3 separate regions of the Homo sapiens genome follow, and regions 2 and 3 are each linked to region 1. The links are contacts of gene promoters, found by promoter capture Hi-C in blood cells and fetal thymus (Javierre and others, 2016). All regions are on one chromosome and are shown on one strand. Each heading gives the region's core, a stretch centred on a gene start or on the middle of the fragment in contact. The rest is flanking DNA. Distances are from core to core; before and after follow the strand shown. Region 1 overlaps PDGFB (platelet derived growth factor subunit B). Region 2 holds the start of NPTXR (neuronal pentraxin receptor). Region 3 holds the start of DNAL4 (dynein axonemal light chain 4).

What was found. The method cuts DNA at HindIII sites, captures the fragments that hold promoters and counts their contacts. A CHiCAGO score of 5 or more calls a contact.
Region 2: a contact is called between the fragment with the promoter of NPTXR here and a fragment that was not itself captured in region 1, in 1 of 17 cell types (erythroblasts). The highest score is 6.8, in erythroblasts.
Region 3: a contact is called between the fragment with the promoter of DNAL4 here and a fragment that was not itself captured in region 1, in 1 of 17 cell types (erythroblasts). The highest score is 6.0, in erythroblasts.

The regions. Positions count from the first base shown.
Region 1 is chr22:39,235,490-39,239,079 of GRCh38, forward strand. It overlaps PDGFB (platelet derived growth factor subunit B), which reads right to left. Exons shown (of 7, transcript NM_002608.4): 2 at 289-385. Among named protein-coding and RNA genes, the nearest start is that of PDGFB, 7.7 kb to the right of the region's middle. RefSeq lists enhancers at 836-1,730, 1,731-2,625. The HindIII fragment of the contact is 2,070 bases long and covers 1,020-3,089 here.
Region 2 is chr22:38,842,743-38,846,667 of GRCh38, forward strand. It overlaps NPTXR (neuronal pentraxin receptor), which reads right to left and starts at 1,286. Exons shown (of 5, transcript NM_014293.4): 1 at 493-1,286. The coding sequence starts at 1,116. RefSeq lists a silencer at 805-874. The HindIII fragment of the contact is 8,819 bases long and covers 1-3,531 here.
Region 3 is chr22:38,791,561-38,795,488 of GRCh38, forward strand. It overlaps DNAL4 (dynein axonemal light chain 4), which reads right to left and starts at 2,583. Exons shown (of 4, transcript NM_005740.3): 1 at 2,508-2,583. RefSeq lists a silencer at 2,325-2,774. The HindIII fragment of the contact is 6,501 bases long and covers 689-3,928 here.

The DNA.
Region 1 (3,590 bases), core at 805-3,304:
AGATGCCCTGGGCACCTTCTCCCCGCCCTCCCTCCTCCTGGCACCCCACCCTTGGCACCAAGCCGGAGCCACACGTGGGTGCTTCTCCTGCCACACCCCAAGTCCCAGGTACCAACCCGCCTGCTGACTCGGCCCTGCCCTGGATGGGTGTGGCCACGCTCTCTCTGGGCTGCCATGGGCCTCTAGTTCTCCAGACGTCAAGAAGGAGGGATGCCTCCTGTCCTGCCCCTCCCAGATCTCTTAAAGTCTCCTCGGAGGGCCGGAGCGCGGGGCGAGGATTCCATTTACCTCCGGGGTCTCCGTGCAGCAGGCGTTGGAGATCATCAAAGGAGCGGATCGAGTGGTCACTCAGCATCTCATAAAGCTCCTCGGGAATGGGGTCCCCCTGCCGGGCAGACACCAAAAGGCTGAGTGAGCTGGGAGTGGGGGCTTTCCAGCATGGCTGTCTCCCCCACCACACGCTTTCTCGCTTTCTCCTGTGGAAAGCTCCAAGGTCACAGGGAGACGGACAGGCAGGATCCAGGCCTGATGATCAGGAGCACAAAGGCCTCGGGGCCTGGACCTGCCGAAGCCTCTGAGACCCAGCTCAGTCCCTGCACCCTCAACCCCCAACAGGAACCCCAGCTTGCTTTGAGTTGGACCTGCTTGTCTCTATGTCTGTCTCCCCCACCAAACTACATGTTCTGGGAATGCACCAAAATCTGATTTCTCCCTGAGTCTCACAACACACCTGACAGCTGAAGACAGCCAGCATCTCCCATGGCCAATCTAACCCCCATTTTACAGAGGGGAAAACAAACGTTCAAAGAGAGGCTCAATTATTGGCAAAAGCTGCATTCAAACCCATGCCTTTGGGATGACAGAGCCTGTACTCCCAGGCTCCTGGGTACAAGAGGTGCTTAATAAACGCGTGCAGAGTGCGATGGCCTCAGGAGGCCCCAGGTCCTAGCGGTATCTATGAAGTCTCTCACTCGAAAGAGGCGAAAAGGGAATCCTCGGACACGGCCGGGAAACCTGAAAGCTTACCCGTGCCCTGTGCCCAACCAAACCCTATTTTTAGAGCCCCTTTGGCCTGTTGCCAAACATACTCGAAACCTGATAACACTTCAACAGGCCTCATTCGGAGCTGGGCTTCCTCCAGGGAAACCGCAGGTCCCACAATGACACAAGAGCAGCCCCGTAGGAAGGTCACAGCCACGTCCCCCACAGTCCCAGGAGACCCAAGGGGCGGATGCCAGAGATCCCAAGAAAGAGGCGAGGGCAGATGGGAGACTGAGAATCACAATCCAGACCACCAGCCACTGAGAAGCAAAGAAAATTCCTAAGATGTCGCTGCACGTTCAAAGGCTGGAACCGGACTTCCACGTGTGCAAACACACACGTGCAGGCACAGGCACTCGGGCTGCACGGTCTGGACAGACAGTCCTGGAGAGGGCATCAATAGGCTTGGCACATTACTATAGAACCTTGGGTTAAACTATTTTCTGCCTCAGTTTCCCTGGATTAAGAAGGGAGGACTTCCCTTCTTGGTTCGCTCCACATTCCCGGAGCCGAAGGTCGGGGGGCTCAGAGGGGGTCGGTGCAGGCTACCTTCACAAAAGGGATGCTGCTTTCTCGCTGCCTGACGGCGGAGGGGGAGCGAGGGAGAGGAGAAGAGGTCGTCTCAGCCCTGTGGCCAGCCTCAGGGGGCTCTCCCCGAAAGCTCTGTTTCCTCCAGCTTATCATGAGGTCTAGCAACACCTCCAGGGGTTCATCCATGACCAACTCTGGCCACCCACATCGATCCAGGAGCCAGAAGACTCAGGGCGGGGGGTGGGGGTGACCACTTTTAAAGCTACATCATTCCCTGAAACCCCTGAGTCTCCATGTCTTTGTTTGAACATGGAGCTTACAACTCCGCCCAATGTCTAAGGGCTGCTGGGCAACTTGAGGAAAAAAAGGTGGCAGGGCTTGGCTGAGAACTAGGGTCTTTCCTTCAATATCCGGGCAGCCAGGGGCTGCACGTGCAAGACAGAGGAGGGTATGGGCCCCGCTGCCCCTCACTTTCGGCCCCATCTCCTCCGGGCTCTGCCTCCTCCCGCCCTCAAGCAAGTTCATTCTTTCCACCTCAGAAGAGAGACCACGCCTCCGGTGCTCTCCAAATGTTGACAAAGTACCCAACCCACAGAACAGAGGGCTTGGTCTCCAGTGAACACCAGCGAAAGCCGCTTCCCCTGAGAGTTCTGTCAAACCCAGAACTGGCAGGCCAGAGAGCTGAATCCCACGCCTTTGGACCAACTGCCGTGTGACCTCGGCTGGTCACTGCCCCTATGGTCCTGGCTCTCATCTGTGAATCGAGGGGCTTGAAGAACATTCGATTCAATTCTAATTCTGCCAGGAGGCGTTAGAAGGGGCAGAGAAAACGCCAAAGCCGGGTGCCTAGCCAGGCCTCCCTGGATCACTGGCAGAAGGAGAACAAGAAGCGTTTGTGGAGTAAAGATTCAATTAACCCCCCAGGGGAGGGGCCCAAAGGCCTAGTAGCAAATGGCATTTAGTGCTTGTGCCAAGATCTCCCTGCCCACTGGAGAGCCGGCTGCAGCTGCCAGCCACGGCAGAGGAGGCAGACCCCTGAACAGGCCGAGTGGACACCCCAGATCCAGGCCCACGACACATAGGAGATGCCCCTCCAAGGCTGAGTGTGAAAGAGCCCAGGATAGGGTCTGAGGAGGAGAGAGAGGCACATAGTAGGTCCTCGGTAAATACTGGTCAAATGCATGAAGGAGTCTACCATTTTCCAGGTTCTGTCCAGTATGATTCTTCTGCCTCCTCCACCAGGAGGGCCACCTGGGATATTCTTCCCCAACCCTAGGCAAATGAGCAACTAGAGTCCCTTTTAATCTGAGCAGGGAGACCGTCCCTGAAGATGCTTTTGGTAATGTGGCCACTAGATGCCCAGAACTACCCATAAGCCCCCGGATTTGGTAATAATACCACAACTAACATCTATGAATGCCAGCTACAAGCCACACGCTGAGAAAAACACCGTATAAACTACCAATCCTAAGAGGCTGGCAGTATTTGTATCCCCATCCTCCAGATGAGAACACTGAAGCTTAGAAAAAATTAAACAAGCAGCAACAGGTCCAGACAATTAGCAAGTGGCAGAGCTGGGTCGTTCCCAGGCTCCAGACTGCCCACCTGTTCCAGCCCACCATGGGGCGTCTCAGCCTCCCTCTCCTGTGTTCTAAGGCCACTGGCCCTCAGCATCACACAAGGTTCGTGTTGGCTCTTTACTCTGCAGCATGTCCCACGTCAGAGGCTCTCAACCAGGGCCCAGTGGGCCCCCAGGGGACAGTGGCAATGTATGAAGGCATCGCTGGTGGCCACAACTTGGGGTGTGCACTGCATCTTAAGTTGGGGGAGGCCGGGGATGCCGCTCACCACCCTTCAGGGCACAGGACGGCCTTCCCAAACATCAGGAGTGCAGAGGCTGAGAAACCCTGTAGCGGAGGAAAGAGCAAGGGCTCCAGATGCCAGGGCAACCTGGATTCTTGGAATCTTGTCACAATCTAAAACCTCGGCTTCTGCATCTTTTAAATGGGGCTAATAAT
Region 2 (3,925 bases), core at 36-2,535, 390 kb before region 1:
TCTGTTCCCGGCTCTGTGTAATGAGGGGAGGACCCCAAGTCCTTTGGACAGCGCATCCATCTCCTGGCCATAAAGTGTGAGCGTGGAGCTGGGCTGATTTGGGGGTGTCCGGAAGAAGGAAATGAAAGGGACATTTAATGAGGTCCTAGTACGTGCCAAGCATTTTCACACACCTACATTTGATTCAATTTCCACTACAAGTGGACACTGTTATACCTATTTTACAGACACAGAAACTGAGGCTCAGAGAGGTGCCTGGAGACGGAAAAGGGTGGGGAGCGAATCTTTCTGGCGCGCCCTCTGTGCCTCAGTCACCGTGCCAGACGCCTGCCCGCGTTCCCTATCGAAATCCCCCCGCCTCGCCAGCGAGGAAGGCGCGATCGTCCCCGGAACACAGACGGGAGACCGGAGGCTCGGGGACCGCCGGACGACCGCGGCCGGGCGGCCCCTCACACCACCCGGGCGGCTCCCCCGACGGCGCGCGGCGCTCACCTCCAGGCGGTCGATGCGGTCCCGCAGGGCGCGCACGGCGTCCTCCAGCTCCAGAATGAGCGCAGGCGAGTCCCAGGGCCCGTCGGCCATGGTGTCGCGGCGGGGCCCGGCGCCCTGGAGGCCGCGCGGCAGGCCGCTCTCGCAGCGGCCCAGCTTGCCGGTGAGCTCACGGATGGTGTCCTGGTCGGCGCGGATGCGCGCCTCCTGCTGCAGCGCCGTCTGGCGCAGCTGCTCGGCCGTGCTCTGCAGCAGCAGCAGCTCTTCGCGCTCGCCCGGCGCAGCGCCCGCCGCGTCCCCCTGCTGGGCCCCCGACGGGCAGGCAGCAGCCAGCGGCGTGCACAGGAAGCGGCTGAACAGGGGCCCGGGCGGCAGCGGGTGCGCGCTGGCCGCGGGTGCCCCGGGCAGCGCGGGGGGCCCGGCTGAACCGCCCGCGCCGTGCAGCGCGCTCAGGCTCCGCTGCGGGCCCGGGGACGCGGCGGCGCCCGAGGCGACCGAAGCATTGTCGGCGCCGCCGGGCAGCGCCCGCGCCGGGCTGGCCGCCAGGGGCACGCTGGCGATGATGCAGATGACGGCACCGAGGAACGCCAGCATGCCCGCGGCCAGCAGCACGGCCAGGAACTTCAGCGTGAGGCGGGCGGCGGGGGCGCCCGAGGCCCCCGGCAGGCGCGGCGGCGGGGTCGGGGCGCGGAGCCCGGGCGCGCTGGGCCGAGCGGGGCAGGCGCGGGAGCCGGAGCCGGAGCCGGAGCCGGAGCCGGAGCTGGAGCTGTCGCCGCGGCCGCTGCTGCCGCCGCTCTGAGCCCGGGCGGCGGGAGGAGGAGAAGACGGCAGGCGGCGGGGAGGGGGAGCGGGCGCGGCGGCCCCGCCCCACTCGCTTCCCCGGGCCGGCCCTGGCCCCGGCCCAGCCCCGCACCCGTTCAGTGCCGGGCGCCCGGCTGGGGGCGCCGCCGGGGATGCGGCGAGGAGCGAGGGCAGCGCCTGGGACCTTATCTCGCCGCGGTCACAGCGCAGGGGCCGGCGACCCGAGGGCCGCGCGGCGGGGCTCCTGGGTGACCCCCATCCCAGCCCTCCCGTGCTCGGGCCCCCTCCCCAAGCCGGTTATGTTCACATCCACCCGGGAGGGAGCTTTCTTCCGGGTGGGGCTGTGCACTGGGCGCGCCACAAGCTCGGTCGCAATTGAGCCTTGCCGTGGACAGGCTCACAATAGAAATGAGGAAACTGAGACACCTGAGGTCAGGCCTCTGTCCAAGGTCACCGGGTGGCTGCGTTGGAGCCGCCTGCGAGCTTAGGCACGTTTCACCGGACCAGACTGTGGATGGGGCTGGAGTGGGAGCGGTTAGAGGTGGAGAAGAGGCCAGTGTTGGGGGTTGGGGGGAGGCTCGGATTTTGACCTAACTTCTGTTTATACTGTGGCCACCTGCCCGTCACCCCCACCTCCAACCTTCTGAAGGAGCAGAGTTCACTCCCCGCCACCCTCATTACAGAATCTTCCTGTGATCTCAGAGGATGATGGAAATTCTCTCCTCTGAATCCTTGGGGGCTTAGAGCCTCACAGGTCCAGAGAAACCCCCCACCCCCACTGCAGTCTGCCTTCGTTGGCAAGCGGTGCCACGTGCCTGGTGGGCATGTGGACCAGGCCCAGAAGGAACAGCAGGAATGGGAGTGGGCTGTGCTGTGGGGGTGGCAGAGGAGCGTTTTACTTTCTTCTGTCAAAAATGTCTATATATATTTTGTTGAAAATTAACTTTGCAATTAAAAACTTAAAAACAATCCTACTATCCTCCACACTTTATCCCCAGCTCCAATTTTCCATGAGGTCTTTCCTGACCAATACGGATTCCCAGGGCTGGAAGGGCCTTGGGAGGGCTGTGGTTATTCCCAGCTCTGTCTCCCTTCCAAGCCTGCATTTTTGACTTGAAGGGAAAGCGCAAACCAGGATCTCTGGACCACCACGGCTACCACTGTGGTTTCGAGTGTACTTCACATAGCGCTGGTGGTGGGGAGAGACCGGAATGTTTCCCAGGAAGCCACAACCCTGGGGGACGCTCTCCAGCCACGGGGATTTTGTCCAGTGTTCCCAGGCACACGTGCTCCACCTCCCTCTCTCCACACATGTTAGGATGATGTCCACCCTGTTCACCCATCTCTAGGAGCCAGGGATTTTCATCCATACCTGAGTTGTGAAAGAGGAGAGAAGCAAACACAAGCGCTGTATGCCAGGAACCTGAGTGCTGTGTGTGCGTGGATGTGTGCTGGTGCTCACTGAAGTCGTAACCTCAAAACCCAGGGCAGGCAGCTGGGCTTGGAGGAAGCATCTCATGGACAGAGAGATGGGCTGGGCTCTTGGAAGGCAAAGGCCAGCGGTAGGCCCTGCTAAAGTCCTGGGGATGCATGAGACATCGGGACTCCTGGTACATCTACACGTGTGCCGTGAAGACAGAAACACGGAGATAGCATCCCCAGGAGAAACTGTCATAGGAAGTCCAGGGAAGGACAGGAGATGCCAAGAGAGAGGGCTGCTGCCAAGAGCAGCAGAGCCACTGTGACTTGGGCACCAAATGGTGCCACCTTTACCTGAGCTGCCCCCTGAGACTTTGGGGACAGTTTGGATAAATGGGTCCAGAGGCTGGAGTCAAATTGTGTTTAAACTGGTCTGTTGATCTCCTAGAATGACTTTATTTTTTATTTTATTTTATTTTTGAGACAGAGTCTTGCTCTGTCACCCAGGCTGCAGTGCGGTGGCGTGATCTCGGCTCACTGGAACCTCTGCCTTGCGGGTTCAAGCAATTCTCCTGCCTCAGTCTCCCAAGTAGCTGGGACTACAGGTGCACGCCACCACGCCCAGCTAATTTTTGTATTTTTAGTAGAGATGGAGTTTCAATATGTTGGCCAGGCTGGTCTTGAACTCCTGACCTCAGGTGATCCACCTGCCTCGGCCTCCCAAAGTGCTGGGATTACAGGCGTGAGCCATGGCGCCCAGCCTCTCCCTTCTTCCTTGGCCCATCTCTATCCCCAGCATTCAGCATGAAGCCTGCCCAGGGAAGCTTCTCGGTGAATGTTTGCTGAACTAGTTCCTAATGCCACTGCTGGAGGCAGAGGAAGGAGGAGAGGACAGAGAAGTCCCAAAACTCGTCTCTCCTGGGTCCTGGGAGAGACCCCCCTTAATCCTAACACAGGATTCCTCAAGGGATGGGCAGAGAAGTATTCTCAGGGGAACTTCCCTAAAACTGGAATAGTTCCTATATTTTCCCTCTGAATTGTCATGACTCCTAGTTTTTTTTTTTTTAAATTTCTTCACTTTCATTCCATTCTTAGGCCAAGGGAATTCTGCCATATATAACAAATATAGGAATTCATTTTAGAAAATATGTTTTGAGACCTACATTGTGCCAGGCATAGTGCCAAGCATTGGAGAGAGCTGGGAACAAGACAAGCT
Region 3 (3,928 bases), core at 1,333-3,832, 440 kb before region 1:
TTTGTATTTTTAGTAGAGATGGGGTTTCTCCATGTTGATCAGGCTGGTCTCAAACTCCTGACCTCAGGTGATCTGCCCGCCTCAGCCTCCCAAAGTGCTGGGATTACAGGTGTGAGCCACTGCGCCCAGCCTATTTATTTTTATTTTTTAGATGGAGTCTCACTCTGTTGCCCAGGCTGGAGTGCAGTAGTGTGATCTCAGCTCAATGCAACATCCACCATCCGGGTTCAAATGATTCTTCTGCCTCAGCCTCCCAAGTAGCTGGGATTACAGGCGCCTGCCACCATGCCTGGCTAATTTTTGTGTGTTGTTTTTTTTTTTTTGAGTACAGATGGGGTTTCACCATGTTGGGCAGGCTGGTCTCCATCGCCTGACCTCAAGTGATCCCTCTGCCTTGGCCTCCCAAAGTGCTGGCATTACAGGTGTGAGCCACCATGCCTGGCCACTACTGTAACTTTATTTATAAACACCGTAAAAAATTTACGTAAATTTAGGCTGCACTAAATTTATAGAAAATATTTTTCTTTCTTCCATAATAAGTTAACCTTAGCTTACTGTAACTTTTTACTTTGTAAAAGTTTTGATTTTGTTAACTTTTTGACTCTTTCGTAGTAACACTTAGCTTAAAACACAAACACATTGTACAGCTATACAAAAATATTTTCTTTCTTTATATCTTTATTCTATAAGCTTTTTTCTACTTATAAATTTTCTATTTCTTTTTTACTTTTTTTTTTTTGAGACAAAGTTTTACTCTTGTTGCCCAGGCTTGAGCGCAATGGCGCTATCTCGGCGCACTGAAACCTCCACCTCCCGGGTTCACGCCATTCTCCTGTCTCAGCCTCCTGAGTAGCTGGGATTACAGGTGCCCGCTACCACGTCTGGCTAATTTTTTGTATTTTTAGTAGGGACAGGTTTTACCATGTTGGCCAGGCTAGTCTCAAACTCTTGACCTCAGGTGATCTGCCTGTGTCGGCCTCCCGAAGTGCTGGGATTAATAGGCGTGAGCCACCGCTCCTGGCCTTTATTTTTTATTTTTAACATTTTTAACTTTTTTGTTAAAACTCAGACACAGATACACTAGCCTAAGCCTACACAGGGTCAGGATGCTTAGTGTCACTATCTTCCACTACCACATCTTGTCCCGCTGGACGGTCTTCAGGGCAATAACACGCATGGAGCTGTCATCTCCTATGATAACAAAGCCTTTTGCTTGAATACCTCCTGAAGGACCTATCTAAGACTGTTTACGGTTAAATTTTATTTTCTTATAAGTAGGAGGAGTGTACACTGTAAAATAACAATAAAAGTGTAGGATAGTAAACACATAAACAAGTAACAGTCATTTATTACCATTATCAAGTATGATGTCCTGTACACAATTGTATGTGCTATATTTTATATGACTGGCAGCACTGTAGGTTTGCTTACACCAGCATCACCACACACGTGAGTCATGCATTTTGCTTTGACATTACGATAGCTATGTAACTAGGTGATAGAAATTTGTCAGCTCCATTATAACCTTAGGGCACCACCGTGGTATCTGTGGTCTTTCTTGACCAAAACGTTGTTATATGGTACATGACTGTATTTCAATCTCCATCTGTCCCCTCCCCACCCCTAAGTAACCCTAACCATGGAAGCCCAGGAGGAAGATCAGAGAGGGTCAACTGGAGAAATGACAGTTCATGCTGACCGGGTTGATAACATTTCCCAGAGAGGGAAAATGTGGTGAAGAGACAAAGGAAAGAAACTAACAAATACTGAATCTATACTGGACTGGACTCTGTACTTCATATTAGCCTCAGAATTACCAAAGGAGATGCACCGACGTATACTGATTTTACATATGCACTGATTAAAAGCGCAGGGAGGGTAGGTCTTGAGACTGGGAATCCAAATTAGGTTTGCCAAGTTATTTTCACAATACACGATACCTCCCATTGGGGAGCACATCCTCTCGGAAGCCTAAAGTTGGGTCAAAGAACAACGACATCCTAGAACGTCAGAGTGGAAGAGGCCTTAGAGATCACTCAACTCAACTTCTCATTTACAGATGGGGAAACTGAGGCCCAAACAGGGGAAATGACCAGCCCAGAATCCCAGTAAGTCGCCAACTCTCCAAGCCAAGAGCGGTCTGACCTAGTTGATGGCGACCCCGCGGGAGAGGGAATTACTCCGCGAAAGGTCGAGGGATCAAGGTGCTGGGGGAAGTCGGCTAAAGGGGGACGCGGGACCACGAAGCTGGGCAGGCCTTGGGTGGGTGGGGAAGAGCAGCCGGCAGAGTCGCGATGGCAAACCTGTCACGACAGAGCTCGCAGGTCCCGAAGTGGGGGTGAGGGTGGGGGTTGAGGATGGGAAGACCTGGGGCAGGGGAACAGCAGGCAGGAGACCGAGGTGGGGCCTCGGCGGCGGGCGAGGCCTCTTCCGCCCTGCGTTGCCTCCCGCCCTCCCTCCGGGCCGGCCCTCCCCGCCTGGCTGCCCGCCGCGCCCCGGGGCCTCACCTGCTCCTGCGGGGGCCGGAGCCGGGGCCGCAGCCAGCGAACCCCCGCCAGGGTTGTCAAGGAGCGAAACAAGAGTGTCTTAGCAACCAGCAAGGAAGTCCTGCCCCCTCACCGGACGTTGACGAGAATTTCACTTATTATTGGTGGATAAAAGTATCAATCAGAGTGAAAGGCCCTTATAAGTCAGGCGTTTGCAAGGACAGGGGCGTGGTTTAGAGGCCAGGGAGGCGGGACTTCACTTATAGTTGTCTTAAGCGTGCCCGAGGAGCAGGGGACACATTGAAGTTCTTTTTCTAGGGAAACAAACTTCGAAAAGCAGTACTGCCTTGGGAGGTTCTTTTAGTCACTTGAAATAACAAATGCAACTTGTTGGTGTCGTGACACTTAGCCACTACTTTATTGGGATCTGAAAAGCCTGATAATAACTAGCATTTTTGTAGGGCTGTACAATTAATATCTCACTTGATTCTCATTACAGTACTTTTAGGTGATAATATTCGTCATCCCATCTGAACTAAAGTTCAGAGAGGTTAAGTAACTTGGTAAAGGATGGAGGTAATCTCCCTGGAGAAGGAACCCAGGGGCTCCTTCCTCTGTGCCACACCCTTGTATGGTCACCTAGCTCTAGTCACTAGGAGACATTTGTACCACCTAATTTCAGACACAGTTGCCCAGAGCCTGCCTTTTCTTCCCCTTGGGAGGGAAAATTAATCCGAAAGTACGGAGAAGGAAAAGGGGAAAGGGGAAGAACTGGCGGATTCTATTATTTGATTGGTAGATCAAAGGGTCAGTTGGGTACTTCGTAGTTTAAACCTTTATTATTGTGATGAGTACTTGGGGTGAAACCCCACTGCCACATTTACTAGCATTGAAGCTGTCTTTGCCAAAATTATAACTGAGGAAATTATGACAGTGAAAGAGATCAGACCTAACCCACTCCATCTTGCCTTTCTAGCCTTTAAGCTGTCTTTGTTCATTCCTAGGCATAGGCTGAACGAACCTTGGGAAGGAATTTAGTTTATAGTTTTACTCTGAAACAAAATTGACAATAGCCCTTTCCCAAAAAGGCTCCCTTCCTGCCTTGGGACCAGTCTGCCTTTGTAGGACTAACAAATTAGCTACAACATTAGAAATTATGGTTTAGGGGTCACACAGCAGCCTCTGGCTGCAAGAGTCTGAACCTTCCCAAATTGCTCCTGGGGATAACATCACTATTGTAAAACCTAAGATCAGCGCTTGAGATATTTTGCAGACCCTGCGCTCGATGGATCAGCTGACACCACCCAGACCAGTAATGTGGCTCAAACAGTTCTGTGATCCCACCCAGGAACAGAAGACAGCAAGAAAACCTCACTTCGACCCCCTCAGTATTCCATCTTCGACTTAATCAATCAACACTCCTCGCTTGCCAAGCCCCTACC